Regions from separate parts of the Homo sapiens genome. Here all the other regions are linked to region 1. Evidence: promoter capture Hi-C in 16 types of primary human blood cells and fetal thymus (Javierre and others, 2016). All regions are on one chromosome and are shown on one strand. The core of a region is centred on a gene start or on the middle of the fragment in contact, and the rest is flanking DNA. Distances in the headings are between cores, read along the strand shown.

The links. Contacts are between HindIII fragments. The CHiCAGO score rates a contact against its expected background, and 5 or more counts as called.
Region 2: a fragment that was not itself captured here is called in contact with the fragment with the promoter of ATP6V1G3 in region 1 in 1 of 17 cell types (non-activated CD4 T cells); the score reaches 5.3 in non-activated CD4 T cells.
Region 3: a contact is called between a fragment that was not itself captured here and the fragment with the promoter of ATP6V1G3 in region 1, in 1 of 17 cell types (neutrophils). The highest score is 5.4, in neutrophils.
Region 4: a fragment that was not itself captured here is called in contact with the fragment with the promoter of ATP6V1G3 in region 1 in 3 of 17 cell types (non-activated CD4 T cells, activated CD4 T cells and naive CD4 T cells); the score reaches 10.9 in non-activated CD4 T cells.
Region 5: a contact is called between a fragment that was not itself captured here and the fragment with the promoter of ATP6V1G3 in region 1, in 4 of 17 cell types (non-activated CD4 T cells, activated CD4 T cells, naive CD4 T cells and 1 more). The highest score is 9.7, in non-activated CD4 T cells.
Region 6: a contact is called between a fragment that was not itself captured here and the fragment with the promoter of ATP6V1G3 in region 1, in 6 of 17 cell types (non-activated CD4 T cells, activated CD4 T cells, total CD4 T cells and 3 more). The highest score is 10.9, in non-activated CD4 T cells.
Region 7: a fragment that was not itself captured here is called in contact with the fragment with the promoter of ATP6V1G3 in region 1 in 9 of 17 cell types (non-activated CD4 T cells, naive CD4 T cells, total CD4 T cells and 6 more); the score reaches 20.2 in non-activated CD4 T cells.

What each region holds. Positions count from the first base shown.
Region 1 is chr1:198,539,273-198,542,125 of GRCh38, forward strand. It overlaps ATP6V1G3 (ATPase H+ transporting V1 subunit G3), which reads right to left and starts at 1,408. Exons shown (of 3, transcript NM_001376861.1): 1 at 1,297-1,408. The coding sequence starts at 1,378. The HindIII fragment of the contact is 10,140 bases long and covers 1-2,853 here.
Region 2 is chr1:198,757,595-198,760,447 of GRCh38, forward strand. No RefSeq gene overlaps it. Among named protein-coding and RNA genes, the nearest start is that of PTPRC-AS1, 92 kb to the left of the region's middle. The HindIII fragment of the contact is 518 bases long and covers 1,215-1,732 here.
Region 3 is chr1:198,334,726-198,337,578 of GRCh38, forward strand. No RefSeq gene overlaps it. Among named protein-coding and RNA genes, the nearest start is that of NEK7, 180 kb to the left of the region's middle. The HindIII fragment of the contact is 3,725 bases long and covers 1-2,853 here.
Region 4 is chr1:198,740,388-198,743,240 of GRCh38, forward strand. It overlaps PTPRC (protein tyrosine phosphatase receptor type C), which reads left to right. Exons shown (of 33, transcript NM_002838.5): 24 at 1,482-1,639; 25 at 1,845-1,980. Among named protein-coding and RNA genes, the nearest start is that of PTPRC-AS1, 75 kb to the left of the region's middle. The HindIII fragment of the contact is 658 bases long and covers 1,107-1,764 here.
Region 5 is chr1:198,722,170-198,725,022 of GRCh38, forward strand. It overlaps PTPRC (protein tyrosine phosphatase receptor type C), which reads left to right. Exons shown (of 33, transcript NM_002838.5): 15 at 247-307. Among named protein-coding and RNA genes, the nearest start is that of PTPRC-AS1, 56 kb to the left of the region's middle. The HindIII fragment of the contact is 3,520 bases long and covers 1-2,853 here.
Region 6 is chr1:198,704,674-198,707,526 of GRCh38, forward strand. It overlaps PTPRC (protein tyrosine phosphatase receptor type C), which reads left to right. Exons shown (of 33, transcript NM_002838.5): 9 at 2,061-2,279. Among named protein-coding and RNA genes, the nearest start is that of PTPRC-AS1, 39 kb to the left of the region's middle. The HindIII fragment of the contact is 2,212 bases long and covers 351-2,562 here.
Region 7 is chr1:198,683,922-198,686,774 of GRCh38, forward strand. All of the region lies in intron 2 of PTPRC (protein tyrosine phosphatase receptor type C), which reads left to right. Among named protein-coding and RNA genes, the nearest start is that of PTPRC-AS1, 18 kb to the left of the region's middle. The HindIII fragment of the contact is 7,286 bases long and covers 1-2,853 here.

The sequences.
Region 1 (2,853 bases), core at 158-2,657:
ATATTCCTTCATTTCATTCATTACGTTTAAATAATTCAGTACCTACTCCAATCCCATCACTACATTCATCCAAAGAGTTACATAAGTAACATTTTGAAAATATGGCCCCTGTTTTGCCAGACTGAATCTAATTGCAGAGGCAGGACACACAAGGAGAGTGAATGACACTACAAATTATTGTAGATTGAATAATGAGGTGATATGAAATGGGATAGTGAAAAAAATGTCTTGGCCTTGGGAATCTGAATTCCAGTTGTAGATCTGAGACATATTAATTTTTTTATTATGCAAATTGTGTAAATTTTGTAAAGCACAGTGGTTAAGATCTGGGCTTGGAAATTATAGCTCATCTAAATCTTGTCTCTACCATTTACCCTCTGTGTGACCTTAGACAAGTTGTATAATTTCTCTAAGCATCACTTTTGCTTTTTCAGTAAAGGTTGTGAGGAATAAAGATAAGCAATGAGCATGGTGCCTGGCACAATATTTTCTATTTTTAAAATATAACCTTGAACAAATCAGTGACTCCATTTCTGCATACATTGGGAATAATGTTAATATCCTATTCATTTGGCTGTTGTATCAAAGAGAATAGAAAAGGTGTTGAAGTTCATTGAGGACATTCTATATGTAAGTACATGAATGCATGACCAAATGAAAAGAGAGCTGAGTACAGTGGCAAGTGCCTGTAGTCCCAGCTACTTGGCAGGCTGAGGCAGCAGGATCTCTTGAGTCCAGGAGTTGGAGTTCAGCCAGGGCAACATAGTGAGACCCTCATCTCTTAAAAAATAAATTAATAAAAATAAAAAGAGAGGTAGAAAATGAGAATAAAATGAAAATATTTTAAAATATTAGATGTTAAAAAGCTACCAAGAGAGGGATGAGAATGAGCCATTATTATTCTGATTTTATGGAAATGAAAACTGATGCTTATAAAAAATAAGTAATTTGCTCAGGTTTACTCACTAATAAGTAGATTCAATCCAGAGGTTTTCTACCCCCTAACAATGTTGAGAAAACAGGCATGGCATAGCCAAGGCTTAAGCCCACATCTCTATAATCTTAATGTCCATGAACACATGACCTCTCAAAAGGATCTGAATGAGGAAACTTCATCCCTGCTCTAGAAATAAGGAACATATGGCTGGGTAATTTTAATGAATGGGTGAAGGTCTCACAGGGAGTACAGTAAACCAAAGTTTGAAACAAGGTCTGCCTAATCCAAAAGTCTATGCTTATCCCTGCATTCCACTGCTTTGTTTATTTCGTGACAGACCCCTCACAGGTGAGACTTACTCTTCTTGGCTTCCTCTAGCTTGTCCTTGGCCCGTTTTTCTGCCTGAAGAAGCTGGTGGATCCCCTGAGACTGGCTTGTCATGGTAGTCTGCTCCAAGCAAGTGGCTTCTGTGAAATCTGGGAAGTAATGGGTTCATTTATTCTTTTAGAAATTAACATATAACTCAGATTATTGTGTCAACAGCAAGTTCCAAATGCAGCTGTTTCAAACTGGCTTTATTGGGCTGGATAGCTGGGTCCCAAGGAAAGCCCAAGGTGGAATCTAGAAAAACAAGTTAAACCAATGTGCATAAATTGAGAACTTACCATTTCTGCCAATCTTAGCTCTTCTGTATGAGATAAGGAGGTATAAATGAGGTGTTGCATCTACTTATAAATAATGAATAAGAGACCTTTTAAGAATGTTGGTTTCCCTAATCTTCCAAGAAACATTGACATGTTTACTGAGTTTTTCTTTTAAGTAACAAGATCTTTGCTCTTTGTACCTGCAGTACTTTGTTTCAGGTCTTTTTCTTTATTTGTTTCTAGTGATTCAGTTATCTGCTTGGAGAAAACGTGTTAATCTTTTGTTAGGAAAGAGATTCCCTAGCTTTGTGCATAGATGGTGGACTAAGGATTTTTTTCCCCCAAGGTCTCAGGTGACTGGAATAAAAAGATTTCTTTTGGGCATTGTGCTGCTCTTAAGTAATGCTGTAGGTTGAAGTTCCAGGAAGATCTTACTATGGTGACTAAACAATTAGTAATTTTAGTAGTAGTAATCATGATAGAAATAGACTATAACTGTAGGTTTTGGGATTAAGTTAAAATAATTTAAACATGCATTTTATATTATTCAGTGTTTGTGGTGAGTATTGTCCTAAGATAATACAATAAAATCCATCATACTTGATTTGATTCGATCCAGTAGCAATTGGACAAATCAGAATATTGGTCACAGAGAAGAACCACAAAGTATCATTTATATGTATCTAAAATTTTTATTTGAAGTGAAAAGCTAATCTGTTGACTTAGAATAAGGCTTTCCCCCCGATACGATTTGCAGATTGGGGTTTCACGTATTATTGCTTTCATAAACTATACCTCTATTGCCTCATATGTAAGTGCCAGGTTCATTTTCTTTAATAAGGTGTCTGGATTTAAAGACAATTGTAAAACAATCTGGGCACTAAATCTTTTAAGGCTTTAATGATTATTTTCTCCTAATCTTTTCAAGTTGTCTCATCCATATCTGCATGCCTACATTATGTGTGCATTTTCAGCAAATATTTTCAAAAGGAAAAACTTTTCCACAGGATCACTTTTACTTTTTTTTTTTTTTTTGAAGTCACATTTAATCAGCTTATAAAGTACTTAATTTGTATTGCGTAATTAAATACCTGGTGTAACTGGGATAAACCGATTTTCGAACAAGCACAACTCTTGTATGATCCCTCCAGACAAAAAGATACAAGGTGGCTTAACAGGAAGAAGTCCTAGAGAGGAAAAAGCCTTTGGGAATAACCCAAAATGGAGACTTAGAATGAATTTCATCCTCTCCTGACCCTCAAAAAATTACTC
Region 2 (2,853 bases), core at 224-2,723, 220 kb after region 1:
TTCAACTCACATTTATTTTGTGTCCCTACTTCTAATTATTTCACTATTGTAACATATAAAATTAACAATTAACCCTTATAGTAGTATATAGATCCTTGTGCTTATTTAACAGATGAAAAGAAGTAAATTTTACAATGAAGCCACAGTTTCTAATTTATATTAAGGTTACTTATTACATCTTTACTTATTAATGAGAAAAGGGGATTAGAATCACCAATTATGGGCACAAAAAATAAAGTTTGCTTTCACTTACCTCTTCAGTCACTCAAACTATTATGCATTCTTTTCTTTTATTGAAACTTGATCAGTTGCCATTTTCTAGATAATGTAGTTAAAATTTGCAGTTCTCATGTTCAATAGAACATTATGATGTATGCCTACTTTATCTGTTAATTGCTTCAAAATACAAATAGCAGAAAGTCTAAATAATCTACAAGCAAAGTTTTTCTTCAGAAGTTTCAATTGCAAGTAACATCTTCCAAATGTAGTTGTGTGTTTTAAATGTGTTTTCCACCTGACACTATCTTTTGAAAGATTAAAAACTACTTAGAAAATAGAGCAATAATAATTTCTATTAGTTTAAGAATCAAGCTTGAGACTTTTTTTCTACATATGGGAATTTGTTGTAAAGAAAGAGATGAAATAGTGGCTCAGAAAGCCCACTACTTTGTGAGAACATATACTAAACCGAAGGTGAGACCCATGGCACTAGAACATGGAATTATATGTCTATGATTTTTACCTGTAGAAAGAAATAATATGTGAATTATAGGTCTATGTCTATGGCCATGGGTTGCATTAATGGGGATCTGTTACAAGGTATAAAAGATTTATTTGCTAAAGTTTGGCACTGCCATTATTAATTCTAGGATCCAGTCAGAAATATTAAGCAAAAAGTTTTGACTTACAAAAGCCTGGTACACTGTAGGGATAATGTTATGAATCCAGAACATTACATTTATTGGGCAAAAAGAAACTTCTAGGTTTCTTTTAAAGTTGTTTGCTTTATTCCTGGTATTAGAATTCAATGGGAATAAAAGATACATTTAGTAAGCCTAAACTTCAGGTCCCAAGCTATTAATTGTGTACATAAGTGACAAATAAATATTTTCATTTAAGAGATATATATATTTTAATATTTTCTTGCAAGAGGAAAACTGTGTAAAGTGATTAGCTGAACATCTGTCTTTGCAAAGATAATTTTAAATGCGTTAAGCTTCCCCTCAGAATTCTTATATTTGTACAGAGAAATTTTCCTGTTTTTTTCCCTCTAAAATATTAAACATAAAATTTATTTTTACAACTAACTAGGACTGATCTTAATTTTAGATTTATACCAGATATTGGTTATAAGATGATTTCATAACACCATATTAGATCTGAATAAGTGAATGCTATTTGCTCCTAGCTAATTGCAGCATGTTTCTTGATATGAAGACCTTAAAATATATCACTTCAAAGGAAATGAATATCTGTTAAAATGAGTAGAAAAGGCTATGCTTTCAATCTCCTACACAAATTTTACATCTGGAATGATCTGAAGGTTCTTCAAAGACATTCAAAATTAGGCTTTTTTATGTCCTGTTTTAAGTGAAAATATTTATTCTTCTAAGGGTCCATTTTATTTGTATTCATTCTTTTGTAAACCTCTTTACATTTCTCTTTACATTTTATTCTTTGCCCAAATCAAAAGTGATTCCTAAATTTTAATTATATTTGTAGGACAATTAAAAGCTTTTGATAACTTACAACAAATGAATTCTTGTTTTTTGCTAAGATCCCGTAAAGAAAACTCTTCTTCTTTATTCAAACTATCCATGATTACTTTCTTCAAAATGACATGAAATTTGATTGTCAGATAAAATACAAGGCATTGGGTTACATTCGAATTTTAAATGAAACAAGAATAGTTTTTTAGTGCAAGTATGTCTCATGCAGTATTTGGGACATATTTGCACCAAAAATTGTTTCTTGTTTATTAGAAATTTAAATTTAACTTGGCATCCTATTTTTTTTAATCTCGCAGCTTTAACATGAAAGAATCAACTATATCTACTTCACTTAAAAGAACATTTGTAGTTCTCCTTGCAGAGAGAGACTTCACCTCTCTAGTTAGCTGTATTCCTAAGCATTTTATTATTTTTGTGGCAATTGTGAATGGGAGTTTGCCTCTCAGCTTGGCTATTGTTGGTTATAGCAATGCTAGTGATTTTTGCACATTGATTTTGTATCCTGAGACTTTGCTAAAGTTATTCATTATCCTGAGAAGCTTTTGGGCTGAGACTATAGGATTTTCTAGATACAGGATCATGACGGCTACAAGCAGGAATAGTTTGACTTCCTCTCTTCCTATTTGCATGCCCTTGCTTTCTTTCTCTTGCCTGATTGCCCTGGCCAGAACTTCCAATACTATGTTGGACAGTAGTGGCGAGAGAGGGCATCCTTGTCTTGTGGCGGTTTTCAATGGGAATACTTCCAGCTTTTACTCATTTAGTATGATGGTAGCTGTGGGTTTATCATATGTGGCGCTCATTATTTTGAGGTATGTTTCTTCAATACCTAGATTATCAAGAGATTTCAACATGAATGGATGTTGAATTTGATCAAAAATCTTTTCTGCAGCTATTGAGATAATCATGTAGTTTTTGTCTTTAGTTCTGTTTCTGTGATGAATCACATTTATTGATTTGTGTTTGTTGAACCAACCTTGCATCCCAGGGATAAAGTCTACTTGATCATGGTGGATAAGCTTTTTGATGTACTGCTGGATTTGGTTTGCTAGTATTTTGTTGAGAATTTTTGCATCAACATTTGTCAAGGATATTGGCCTGATGTTTTCTTTTTTTGTTGTAT
Region 3 (2,853 bases), core at 121-2,620, 200 kb before region 1:
ATACATTAAGATAGTGTCTATGGAAATTATCAGTGAGAGCTATTAATGTTATAGAAGAGTTCTTATAGTTGTCATTTAAAAATATTGTTCATTATTTTATTAAAGCCAGATAGAAGGCACTTTCTCAATATTCCCATTAATATGGGTTTCTGTCTCCTTCCCAATTTATCTTCACATAAATTAGGATGCATTTTCTATAAGGATACATGATATAGTTAAGCATGCTAATCTTCACCAAAAGGGTAGACTGATTATTTAAGTCAGTTATTTCAATTTTTTTTTGTCTTCCCAGCTAAGCCAATTGGATCTGTCAGTGAAAACAAAAAAAGAAGGTATTTTATTTCTCAAGAAATGGCATTCACTTTAATATATTGCATTAAATCCAAATACAAAATATATTTTTGAAGTCGAATAATGAAAGAACGTGCTTCATTTCTTCAGATATTTGTGACTTAAAATCAGTTAATCAATGTGTCATAGGTATATATGTATTTGTATTTCTGTGTAGTGGCTCATAAATAACCAATTTTACTAAACTACACATAAACATTTGTAGCCTTCCGCTTTTAACTCTGTATGTCATTTTTTAAATTTAATATCTCATTTATTGCTGAGATGGTGTAATCATTTCAAATTATTTGATGATTTTAAGTATTTCTAACTAGTTCATATCCTTTTGGCAAACCATGCTCAAGAGTAAAGTCACTCAATAATGTCCTTAAGACAAAATGAAGATCCTTTTTTCAAATTTTATTATTTTTAAATTTAACTTTTATTTTAGGTTCAGGGGTACATGTGCAGGCTTATGATACAGTAAATGTGTGTCATGGGAGTTTGTTGTGCAGATTATTTTATCACCCAGGTACTAAGCCTAGTACCCATTAGCTATTGTGTCATGGGGGTTTGTTGTGCAGATTATTTTATCACCCATGTACTAAGCCTAGTACCCATTAGCTATTTTTCCTGATCCTCACCTTTCTCCCACCCTCCACCCTCTGATAGGCCCCAGTGTCTATTGTCCCTCTCTATGTGTCCATGTGTTCTCATCATTTAGCTTCCACTTATAATGAGAACATGTGGCATTTGGTTTTCTCTTCCTGCATTATTCTGCTAAGGATAATGGCATCTAGCTCTCTTTATATTCCTGGAAAGGGCATGATCTCATTCTTTTTAATGGCTGCATAGTATTCCATGGTATATATGTACCATGTTTTCTTTATCCAGTCTACCACTGATGAACATTTAGGTTGATTCCGTGTCTTTGCTATTCTGAATGGTGCTGCAGTGGATGTAAGTGTATGTGTGTCTTTATGATAGAATGATTTATATTCCTTTGGGTATATACCCAGTAAACAGGATTGCTGGATCAAATGGTATTTCTGTTTTTAGGTCATTTGTTTTTATTACCTCTGCCAAGTTCATTGTTAGCTATTCATCCTCCTCATCCCCTCTGGAAGTTCTTTCTAAATAATGTTGTAGAATTATTTACTCTTTTTTTAAAATTCATTTTTGAGTACTACTTTATCTCAACAGTAAAAGTTCCTGAAGTTACTTATATAAATTCATTAAATTTTTGTGAAACACACACTAAAGAAAAATTGATTCAGAAATTGTCTGTTTTTAAGATATGGAGTATAGTTTGGAGACAATATAACCGAAGGTAAGTGCCTTAACAAGAATCTTCCTCCCTATTTTATACTTATTTCTACTACAGTTTTCACTTGGTTTAGAAACCTTAATTCCCAGACTGTCAGCCTCATTAGGGCAGGAAGGGGTCTACTCTGCACACTGTTGTAGCTTTAGTATTTAGCCCAAGTGCTGGCCCAGGGTGCACTCCATAAATATTTATCTTCATTTTCTATTGGGGCTATAGTAAATTAAATAATACAAAGTTATTATCTTACAGTCCTGTAGGTCAGAAATCTTAGAGGAGTCTCATAAGATTTCAGCAGGGCTGATTCCTTCTGGAGGCTCTAGGGGAGAATGTGTTCCTTTGCCTTTTCCTACTTCTAGAGGCTCCCCACTTTCTTTGGTTCATGGCCCCTTCTTCCATCTTCAAAGCCAGAAACTGCAGGTAGAATCCTTCTGATGCTGCCATCTCTCTGGTTCTCTGCAGTTGGGAAAGATTCTCTGCCTTTAAGAACTCATGTGATTAGATTGGGCCTATCTGTATTATCCACAGTACTCTCCCAATCTCAAGGTCCTCAATCTTAAGCACATCTGCAAAGACACTTTTGCCAGGTAAGATAACATGTTCACAGGCTCTAAGGATTAGGCCATGGACATCTTTAGGGGGACCTATCGTAATGTCTATTAAATGAAAAAAACCCTGAAAACGTCTCATCAATTTTTATCATCAAAACTAGTCATCTACTTCTAACCATCTGTTGAGCTCCACTTCCATTTCCAGTGTGGGCACTGACATTCCAATGGGCATGCCTACCTTTTTTCCTAAGAATCCCTTGCTTTGATGGGTCAGCCTTCTTCTTTGGTGTTCGATTCTGCCTCTGTTCATTATCACTCTACCATGTCAGCAGTCTACCATTAGGGATCACTGTCAATAATGATTGGAAGTTGATATGGTTTGGCTCTGTGTCCCTGCTCAAATCTCATGTTGAATTGTAATTCCCATTGTTGGAGGTGGGGCCTGGTGGGAGGTGATTGGATCATGGGGGTGGTTTCTAATGGTTTAGCACAATCCCCCTCGCACTGTCTTGTGACAGAGTTCTCACAAGATCTGATTGTTTCCGTGTATAGCACCTCCCCCTTCACTCTCTTTTCCTGCTCCACCCATGTAAGCTGTGCCTCTTTCCTCTTTGCCTTCTGCCATGATTGCAAGTTTCCTGAGACCGC
Region 4 (2,853 bases), core at 186-2,685, 200 kb after region 1:
GCCAATATGGTGAAACCCCGTCTCTACTAAAAATACAAAAAAATATTAGCCAGGTGTGGTGGCATGCACCTGTAATCCCAGTTACTTGGGAGACTGAGGCAGTAGAATCACTTGAACCTGGGAAGCCGAGGTTGCAGTGAGCCAAGATTGCATCATTACACTCAAGCCTGGGCTTTGCAGTGAGACTTTATCTCAAAAAAAAAGATAAAATTGACAAACCTTTAGTCAGACTAAGGAAAAAAGAGTGGAGACTCAAATGCGTACAGTCAGAGATGAAAAAAGAGACATTGCCACTGATACTTCAGAAATTTAAAAGATTATGAGATGCTACTATGAGCAGTTATATGCTAATGAATTGGAAAACTTAGAAGAAATGGATAAATTCCTAGATACATGCAACCTATCAAGATTGTAAAATGTCTCTTGATAGAGCTGTTTAAAAAACTACAAGTCTTTACATGGGGGTTAAGATTTTCTCTTAATTTCATTTATTGTAGGGCTTTTAGTAATCTAAATTTTATTTTTGTATAGTCTAGCTATATTTTCTACAGGAGAAACAGACTTAGTCTATATATCTCCGTAGGTCTTCTTAGGTTTCCATGGTATTACTAATTGTTATGTCTATAGAGTGCTGTGAAACAATCCTATCAATAGTTTCTGGCCAAACACTTGTTTGACTAAGCCACAAAGGCACCTGCTCCATAGATATGAGGATATATTTCTAGATTGATGCCTATCTGGCTACATTCTGTAGTCTGGGTTTACTGGTGTTAATTAACTCAGTTTGTGTGTTTCTTTTGTTATCTAAATGTAGATGGTTCTTTATACCTGGCCATAGAATTATGACTTATGCATCTTATGGTGGTTACCTTGAAATTAGAACAAACCTGAGCTCTAATCTGGGGCTGACTTTCCTCAGTCGTCTCTCTACATTCTGTGTTGACAATGCTACCATGTGAAGGCCTAAGGAATACAATGTTCATCAAATAATTAATCAGACTTTGCTCACATATGAATTAGTTCTGTTTGCTGGCCTATCAAGCAGAAGTATTTTAAACAGTTGTGAGAATGACCTTTACCAAATCATTTTAAACACAAATCCAAAAAGCTTCCACCCATGCACCCCACTTTTATGGTGTATGTTTATTTTGGGTTTTTTTTGCTTGACAGCATGCAAGTTCCTAGAAATTTTGGTTATACTTTTAAAGAAAGTATTACCTTACTTACCTTACTGTTAAGTTATTGCTTACAGGGTAGTACATGCAAGTCCTGCACAATATCTTAACTACTAGTTATTGATTAGAAAGGAAAACACAACCATGGTTGAGAAAATATATAAGACACCTGAGGAAACTATGAACTCTTTTGAGTAGTTTATGTTTACACGAGGAGACTTTGTACTGGTACTCCCTTCCACTTATTTATGTTTCATAGTTTGCTTTAAAAAAATCATCTCAAAGAAAATATTATCTCTTGACTAGAAAAAAGAAAAAGCAACTGGAAGAGAGGTGACTCACATTCAGTTCACCAGCTGGCCAGACCACGGGGTGCCTGAGGATCCTCACTTGCTCCTCAAACTGAGAAGGAGAGTGAATGCCTTCAGCAATTTCTTCAGTGGTCCCATTGTGGTGCACTGCAGGTAGGAAAAACGAACAAAAAAAAAAAACAACAACAAAAAAACTCCAACAGAATCCACCTGCCTAGGGCTGTTAGAGACATCTTTCCCTTTGGCAATTGCTATTTTGGGAAACAACCTATGGGAGAAGCTTAGATTCTTATATTGGCTTCACACCTGACAGCTTTTCCATGATCATGCCTCTGCTTTTTTTTGCTTGGTTTGCCAGTGCTGGTGTTGGGCGCACAGGAACCTATATCGGAATTGATGCCATGCTAGAAGGCCTGGAAGCCGAGAACAAAGTGGATGTTTATGGTTATGTTGTCAAGCTAAGGCGACAGAGATGCCTGATGGTTCAAGTAGAGGTATGTTCTAACCTTTAGTGATTATTCTCACTTTGGTTTTTTGGACTTAAATCTTTTCCAAGTGATAATAATGATATTTTTTAAAAATCCAAATTCTTCACAACCTCAAACAGTAGATGATTTCCTGAAAACTAAAACGTGGTAATCACCAGAAATACTTAGAAGCATTTTTCATTAGTGCCTAAAAGTACTGTGGAAGAAAGATGACCACAAAATATATAATTTTTAAAATAATGAACTACTGTTAACATATATCAGATTGGCAAAAAAAGTAAAAATGCTGAAAATAGATTTGGCATCATCTCATAAAATTAAACTGAAGAGACAGAATAGTATAGTAATCAACAGCTGGTTTTAGAAACTACACTTACAGGTTTCAAATCTTGCTTTTAATTATTAATACGAGGGTGAGTGGTATTGTTTATTAAGTAATTTTAGTCTGACTGCACCTCAGTTAAGTCATCTGTAAAATGGAGACAATGATAATACCTCACAGACTTATAACCACAAAAGTAATACAAATAAAGCACTTAAACAAGTCCCTGGCCCATGCTATGCATTTGGTGATTGTAAGTGATGGTAATTACTGAAAATGTCTGTATTTGACCCAGCAAAATCACATATATGCATATACCCAAGAGAAGCATCAACTAGAAACATTTGCAAGAATGTGCATTGCATTCAGCATTGTCAAAATAGCAAAAAAAAAAAAAAAAAAAAAGTGAAATACATATCAATGAAAGAATGGAAACACCGTAAATATGTATCAATAGGGGAATAGGAAGACAAAATGTGGACATGTGAACTCTCTGTACAACAAATGCTATGTTGTGGTAGAAAGCAATGATCTAGGTTTGTGTCTGTCTGTTTGGA
Region 5 (2,853 bases), core at 105-2,604, 180 kb after region 1:
TAATTGTTTAATAACTATAAATATTTTTATTGCTAAGTGAGATAAGATATCTTTTTGATTGTCTTTTCAAATATATTTGACAACATACTGACATAACCTTGAAGTTTAAAGCAAATCAGCATACTTTTATTGTATGCATGGTATGAAAGATAATATAAATGTTTTACATTGTGATATATAATATATATATATATATAAATTCACATTAGCAAACTAATTATTTTATTTTTTGTTACTGAAATTCAGGCCTATTTTCACAATGGAGACTATCCTGGAGAACCCTTTATTTTACATCATTCAACATCTTGTAAGTTATCACTGGGCTATTTATTATATATATTAAGATATATATTAATGCTTATAAAGCTATATTATTTTACACTTATAATCACATTTGATTGTTAAATGCTTAAATAATATCTCTTCCGTAAATGTAATATTTTTAATTGTCAGTAAAACCATACATATATATGTAAATATATTTAAATACAATATCTTAAATTCAAGTTAGGAGATTCAATTATTAAAGGTTTGTTGAATTCATAAGAGGATTTATATACCCAAACTATTAAATTATGTTTATGTTTATGAAATATCGTCATGTTAGTAACATTTTTCGTGTACTATTTTAGATTATCTATTTTATTCTGTCTCTTCAGCATATGTTTAGCAGAAGTGGGCCTTAGATACAAGTCTGTCTTGATTTACTTAATGGAAGCTAATATAAGCACTCCCTAATAACAATATACTTATGTAAATATTTATCACTGATATTTAAAATATTTTCATCAAAGTAAAGGTGTACATGAAAAATTACTTAGAATTAAATTTCATTATAATAATGAAAATAACAGCTGCATGTTACATTCCCCACCCACAATTCTGTTTGCCAGGCAACCACTTTTAACCATTTCTATTTTTGGGTCTCCTTATAGTTTCCTTCATATATATATATATATATATAAACAATATTGTATACTGCTCTTTCTAGAGTTACTAACATTACCAATTGATCTGAGCCTATGGAGGAAGGAGACCTAGTACTCTACTTTGGGCTTTCTCTACTGGTTAACATTGTAAATAGAATTATTTAAGCCTGTATGTACTTTGTTGTCAGCAACTTCTAGGTCTTTCTATCTTTGCCACTTCTAGTTCTTCCTCTCTTACATATGTTACATATGCACATATGCATGTGCACAATCACTGGTATGAATGCAAAGTCAAAAGAGAAAATATAAAAACAGCTTATTTTCCAAACTGCTTTACTAAGCCCTCTGCAAAGTTTTAGTTCTTTCTGCTCAGATTTATGAAATAAAAACTCCCTGTGTTAAATGTCAAAAAAGTCCAGCAAGATAGCTTTGATTTTATTTCCACATTACCTTTTTCTTTTATAATATCTTTATAATAAAAATGACTTCATTGACTCTTTCCTATTAAATTGTAAATAATTTATAGCAGTCATAGACTCAGCTGAACATTCACACTCACATCTTAATAGGCCAGATCTGAAACATTTCACCTGGAAAGACACAGAACAAAAAGCACAGCATGCTAGCAAGGGAGCCTGGCAGTGGGAATCCTTGCAGCGGGAATCCTTGCAGCAGTGCACACAGCAATCCAGCTACTTTTCTTATGACACTCTCAAAGACAACTGAGATATGAGAGAATGAGACCACATGTGTAGGTGTAGGAGCTGCATTCCAAAAGGAATCAGTATCTCTTATACTATTTCCATGGGCATAGCTTCCAGACATGCCAACAGGGGTGTGCTCAGTTATGAGCGGGCACTGCACTCAGGGAAACCCAAAGCTGGTACTTCCCATGAGGACAATAGAGTTCACATATAGCACTCCCTGTTCAGGTGTAGTTTAGCAATCAAGGGTCATTTTGCCATTAGCAATGTTGTCTGGTAACCAGCTAATATTCCACTTTTATCAGGTTTCCAGGTCAACGGAGCCAAAAAATTAGCCCTCATCTTTTTCCACAAAGGAGACAACATTGTATTCACTCTCTGCTCACAATATCATTATCCTAAGAGATAAATAATATAGTTTCTTTTAAAATAGTGATATCTGTTCCAGGAAAGGACTTGGGCTGTGAATTGCTAGGGTACAGCTACTAGGGATGTGTTGTTGGGTTTCCCCGGCATAATATTCCACCACCTGTACTTTGACATCATTGTCAATTGAACTCCTGGGGACCCTTTCTTCTTGCTCTGATCTGGACTCTCACATGCCATCTTGAAATATTCCCCCATCAGTTTTCTGGTTTAGATTTGCTGTATCACACATAGTTATTTTTTTTTCTGTCTGAGTTCACTGATATATGTTCTCTAGTGTAAGAAAAATAATTCTAATTCTCCCATACAAAAAAAATTTTTATTCTGCTCTGGCACTTGTTCAGTGTATCGACTTGGTATAAAATTCTAAGTTAAAAATTTTAGAATTTAAAAATTATTTCTGTCTTATTTTCCTGAATCCAATTTTACTTTCTAATTCCATCCTGATTCTCTCTCTCTCTCTCTCTCTCTCTCTTTTTTTGGTCTGTTCCCAAGTTTTCCTCCCCTGGAAATGCTAGGTTTCTGTCTTTATTCTTGGTCTTACCTGAATTTTTTGTTTGTTTTGTTTTGTTTGTTTTTGTTTTTGTTTTTAGAGGGAGTTTCGCTCTTGTTGCCCAGGCTGGAGTGCAGTGGCATAATCTCGGCTCACTGCAACTTCTGCCTCCTGGGTTCAAGTGATTCTCCTGCTTCAGCTTCCTGAGTAGCTGGGATTACAGGCAGGCACCACCACACCTGGCTAATTTTTGTATTTTTAGTAGAGAAGGGATTTCACCATGTTGGTTAGGCTAGTCTTG
Region 6 (2,853 bases), core at 207-2,706, 170 kb after region 1:
TTGGGAATGATAGACACTGGGAAATACAAGAGCGATGATGGAGGGAGGAAGACAAGGGTTGGGAAACTACCTATATTGGGAACTGTGCCTACTTGCTGGGCGTCGAATTCAATTTTACTGCAAACCTCAGCATCCTGCAATATACCTTTGTAACAAACTTGCACATATAACCCTGGAATCCAAAATAAAAGTTGAAAACTAAGTTTTCCAGTTAGACAACTTTGGTAAAGCCACTTAATTTAATTTAGGTATTTGAAAAAAAAATGGAATAACAGCAAGTTTGTTGGTGAGGGGGAGGGGGACAAGGATTCAGTGTGATGATAAATATAAAATGTGGATAATACCTTCAAAGCTTATCAAGAAGAAAAATCTCTCTTTTTCTCTCTCTTTCTGTCTTGCTTGTTAGGGGCTGGCTCAAAGCAGATACTTGAAAACAGTTTGTCTCTCTTTTTTTTTTTCTCATTTTCTTCCTTGATTCTCAGTTGAAGCAAAGCGGTTCTTCATGGTCAGGGCTTATTCCTCCATTCATTTCTAAGTCTAACCACTGGAGTCACTGCCTTCAGTAGCTTTCCATACATTTAGTGTAAAGAGTGGCCTTCATATGTCTGTTTAATTAATATGATCTTTTGTAATCCGGTTGTCATTCATCTCTCCTCCCGCCTCTTGAATCATTGCCTCCTTATGTTCTTCACTTAAGTAATATGGAACCACTTTCAGTTTTCTTTTCTTTCTTTCTTTCATTCGTTAGTTCTTTCTTTCTTTTTTTTTTTTTTTTCTCACTCTGTTGCCCGGGCTGGAGTGCAGTGGTACAATCTCAGCTTACTGCAACCTCTGCCTCCTGGGTTCAAGTGATTCTCCTGCCTCAGCCTCCCAAGTAGCTGGGACTATAGGCACATGCCACCGAGCCCAGCTGATTTTTGTATTTTTAGTAGAGATTGGGATTCACCATGTTGCCCACGCTGGTCTTGAACTCCTGACCTCAGGTGATCAACCTGACTCGGCCTTCCAAAATGCTAGGATTACAGGCATGATCCACCACGCCTGGCCCACTTACAGATTTGTAAACACATACTGTTCCTTCCTGCCTCTGTGGCCACTCCTGCTCTTCCTCTACAATTGGAATTCTGCTCCAACCTCATCCCCCAAACCCCATGTCTATTTTTCTATTTCCTGCTCATATTTTAAAACACAAACTAAGTCACTTTCTCTGGAAATCCTGTCCTATACCTCCAAATGGAACAGATCTCTCTCTTTCTAGTGCCACATTATTTCCTGCATAATCTTATTTTAGAGGTTTGTATGTCTCCTGCAATTCATGCTTGTGTCTGCCTCCACACTGGATTATACATTTCTAAAAGCTGATTATATCTAACTTGCCTTTGAATTCCTAGTATTGGTGACCATGTCTTACATATGACAAGGGCTTAATAATTTTTGTTGAATAAAAACAAATGAATAAATTTATATTTGTTGTAAAGATATTTTTATCAGTCAGCAGAAATTGTTGACACTAAACAAAGGTGCTTTGGAGGTATATTATCAATCATAATTTTACCCAAGTTAAGGAAAGAATGAGGGCTTCTGATCCCTGAGTAATTAATGCCCCACATATATCAAGAAACAGGTGGTTAATAACTACGTTTTAGAAAACAAGAAAATTATAAAGCAAGAATAAATTTCTCAAATGCATCATTTATTTGTGCATCAAGTCAACAAGTAACTAGTGAGTTCCCATTAATGATACATATTATGCATACTCCTGAATTTACAGTGATAATAAAAATAGCCTAGACTTTGCTCTCATGGAAGTTCCAAGTCCAGCTAGGAAGACAGACACTTATCTGGTAATCATCCAAATATAAATTTACAAGCTGAGGTCCTTGTTAGGGCAGTAAAGCACAGATAATTACGAAAAAAATGATATGGAGGCACCTAATGTGTTTTTTCTTTTTCATGTTTTTTGGGGATATTTGGTTAGTTGATTTGATATTTTGGCATTTGCATTAATGTAGTTTTATTTATTCTGGAAAAATAACACTCAATGTTCTATTTTCTTTTAGATGAAAAATATGCAAACATCACTGTGGATTACTTATATAACAAGGAAACTAAATTATTTACAGCAAAGCTAAATGTTAATGAGAATGTGGAATGTGGAAACAATACTTGCACAAACAATGAGGTGCATAACCTTACAGAATGTAAAAATGCGTCTGTTTCCATATCTCATAATTCATGTACTGCTCCTGATAAGACATTAATATTAGATGTGCCACCAGGTAAATATCAATTTATTTCTTTTAATAAATTTATAAAAACAGTACACTTTTGTGTGTGGTGTTCTCCAGTGGTCACAGGAGCTAGTCTGGTGAGAGAACAGGGCTGAGGGAAAGGAAATTCCTTGGAAACAAGTGGGTGAACTTTCTGCTGTCTTAACCAAGTAAAAATGATAGAGTCAAATAAGCCTTCTGTTTACATCCATTAATCACCACTTCTACTTATTTAACAGGGAGATGTTTATGTGCACTAAATATAGTTTATCCTGCTAAGTGATTGTCTGCAAGCTTTCTTTATTCTCCTCTACTTAAATGAAGTATTAATTATATATGTACATATATTTATTCTTTTAAGTACAAATTTATCTGAAATATATTAGGGAGAAACATAAAGGATTTGATGTGTATGGGAAGAACCAAAATACATTCATAAAAAGGAAGGTTATGGTCATGTTAGTGAGATCAAGTTGGTTTTGTCAGCTAAGCTACTGCTTGGAAAGAGGAGGGGGTGACAGGCGTCGGGCAGACTCTGGGGAAGCATCTCTTAGCCAAATGCATTCTGGAAAAGGGATTCCAG
Region 7 (2,853 bases), core at 134-2,633, 140 kb after region 1:
TAGGAGATCTTGAGCTAAACGAAGTGACATAAGTTTCTATGCTTTTAATATATTAACACACTTTATAAATATCTCAAAAGGGCATGTAGCATGAATTACTTCTGAAACAAATTTGACTATGGGACATTTAAAGGCACACAAATCTAAATCAAAGACTTCAATTTGACCATCATTGCACAGGAAGCGATAAAATTTTCCCCCTGACTTGTAGATAAATAGTTTAAGACAGAAAAAAAGCAGTGTAACTGATTGTTCTTAAATGGTTATCTAGTAGCCTTTATTAATTTTTTTGTCATTAATTGTTTCGTTAATCAACATGCCTGAAATATATAACATGATGTTTTAAACCAAATATAAAATACCTACAAATGCATTCCTAGTTTTGAGGTGTGTGTTTGCAAAGTCATATGTATTCACAAGCAAAAAACATTATTGTAAATATTGGACACCATAAGTCATTGGGAGACAGCTAGATATGGTTGCTATCTTTAAAATTTTTTAATTATTTGATTTTATTCCTCTCATGGCCACAAAAATTTGCCTTCTTTATCCTCAATACTGCTTTACATACTGATATTTTTCTTTATTATTTGCATTATTATTTAAAAGTGTGTATATAATTTGAAAGTTTAAATAGTACCATAAGGCCTAGAGTAAGTAAGAACAGTCTTTTGCTCCCACGACTCTCCCCTCCCTTGATATTTTGTGATTTTTAAATGTTATCTTTTATTGTAGTGCTGTTTCTTTAAAACAAAAAAAAAGATTTTTGCCAGTATCTATTGACTTCTTCTCTTGATCTTGAGATGTTGCTTTTTATAACCTCTTGCTCTTTGTTCATGGGTGCAATGTTTTCTCATTTCTGAAAATATGAATTGTAGTTGGTTATCCTCTCTTTTGCTCCTTGCATTGCCTCATTCTCCCAAGTGCCTCTTTTGTTTATTTGAGCTCTATCTTTCTTTCTTATTAGAGGCTTTGTTCTAGTGTTTCTTGGATGTCCATTTGTATTTAATAAAAGGCCTCAATAAAGGGATGTTGAAATTCTTTGGACATTGGTGGAGCTCATAAATTCATGTGCTTTAACTAGATTGAATGAAATCAGAAAGGCACTACACTCACTGAGTCTTAGTTTCCTTATATATCAAATGAACTGCATGTCAATAATCACTAAAATCCTTTGCTTCTGTCTGAGTAGAAATCTTTGGAATTATTTTCTGATGATAAGCAGAAAGTCCTTTACTCATGAGATTCCAAAAATAATATTAATATACCCAATATTTTAACATAACGTCTACATAAAGAATAAGAAAATTATTAAATAGACACTATTTCAAATCTAGCACTTTCCTCGTGTGTGCCTGTGAGCAATTTACTAAACTCTTTTAGGTCCCAGTTTCATTCCCTATAAAAAAGGATAAATAATGCTAACTCATTGGCTTACTGGGATGCTTAAAAGAAAAAAAATACATATATATTATATAAAGAGGTGTGCATAGTGTCTGCTACATAACATTTCAGTAAACTGTTGCCATCATTATTATATTTACTGATAAGCTAATGGAGGGTAGAAAAGACTGTTTCCTGTGGTTCTCTGAAATCATAATACCTGGCTTGTCGCTGCCCAGAGTGCTTACTCCATAAATACTTAATAATTTAATATGATTTGTTAGATTTATTGTCTGTGGACCATATAGCAGATTTCTAGCATAAAAAAAGTGCAATTCTCTTATTTTTATTGTGCACTTTATTATTATCATGCATTGCTAAGAAAGGAAAGCCATACATATCTGTTTTAGCTGACCCTTATTTTTTGTCTTGATTTGCTTTTTTCCACTTTTGTACAGGCTTTATGTTTATGGAGGTCAAGTATGCATTCTCAACCTTCAAAACATGCTATCATTCATTTTAGGGCAGATGCTGAGAATAAGTATTTATTTAATCTATTCTATTTTACCCTTCTGCCCTTGTACTTTTCCCAGATTTGCAGAACTAGACAGGTTTAAATTCCCTAGGAAATAGCATCCCATTTTTTTTTCTTTTTTTTTTAGCGGGGAGGGAGAACGGGTGATATTTAAAGCCCAAGTATGTCTTTTGAAATGCCGTTTTCACTCAAATTGATTCCTAGTTTTTGCTGAAATCTCTGATCAGGGACTTAGGGGTGTGACTTCAAGGTAACTTTGATTTGTGATCATTTAAACATTTTGAGTTGTAAAAGAAACATATTGGGAAAGGTAAATTCAGTAACAATACATGTGTTAGAATAACACAGCTTTGAAGATCAAGTGTTCTGTTATCTACATTTTCATCTGTTTAATGTATCTAGTCAATTCCATTGGTGATTCACAACAGGATTATAATGGGAAAAAGAGCTCTTAGATAATTTACAGTTTTTTAGTGCTATGGTGCCACCTACTGAAATATTACTAAATACTCCTTTGACTAAATAATGAAAACACAAGACATTTAAGTTTTAAAAAATGTAGAAAATTTCATCCCTAGAAGATAAAAGTCAAAGTGTAGAATGTAGTAACTGTAATATGTGGAACACTAGATATATTACTGTGTTTTATTTTATATTTATTTGATGTGTTTATAGAATTTGAGAGAAAGCTCAATGCAGTTCTTACTTTGAGAAATAGTGATGCCTTCTCTTTATTGTCACACACCTACACATGTGCCCTCTTAATTTCCATTGCTATGTCACATATTTTGCTTTACCTATTTTCCACACTTTCCCAGTATTGTTCATAAAGAATGTTTACATATATTGTAGTGTAATTTGTATTAAACAATCTCCAAATATTAAATATTTATTGTGCACTGGTTATAAAATACTTTATGCAAAAATTTTGTTTG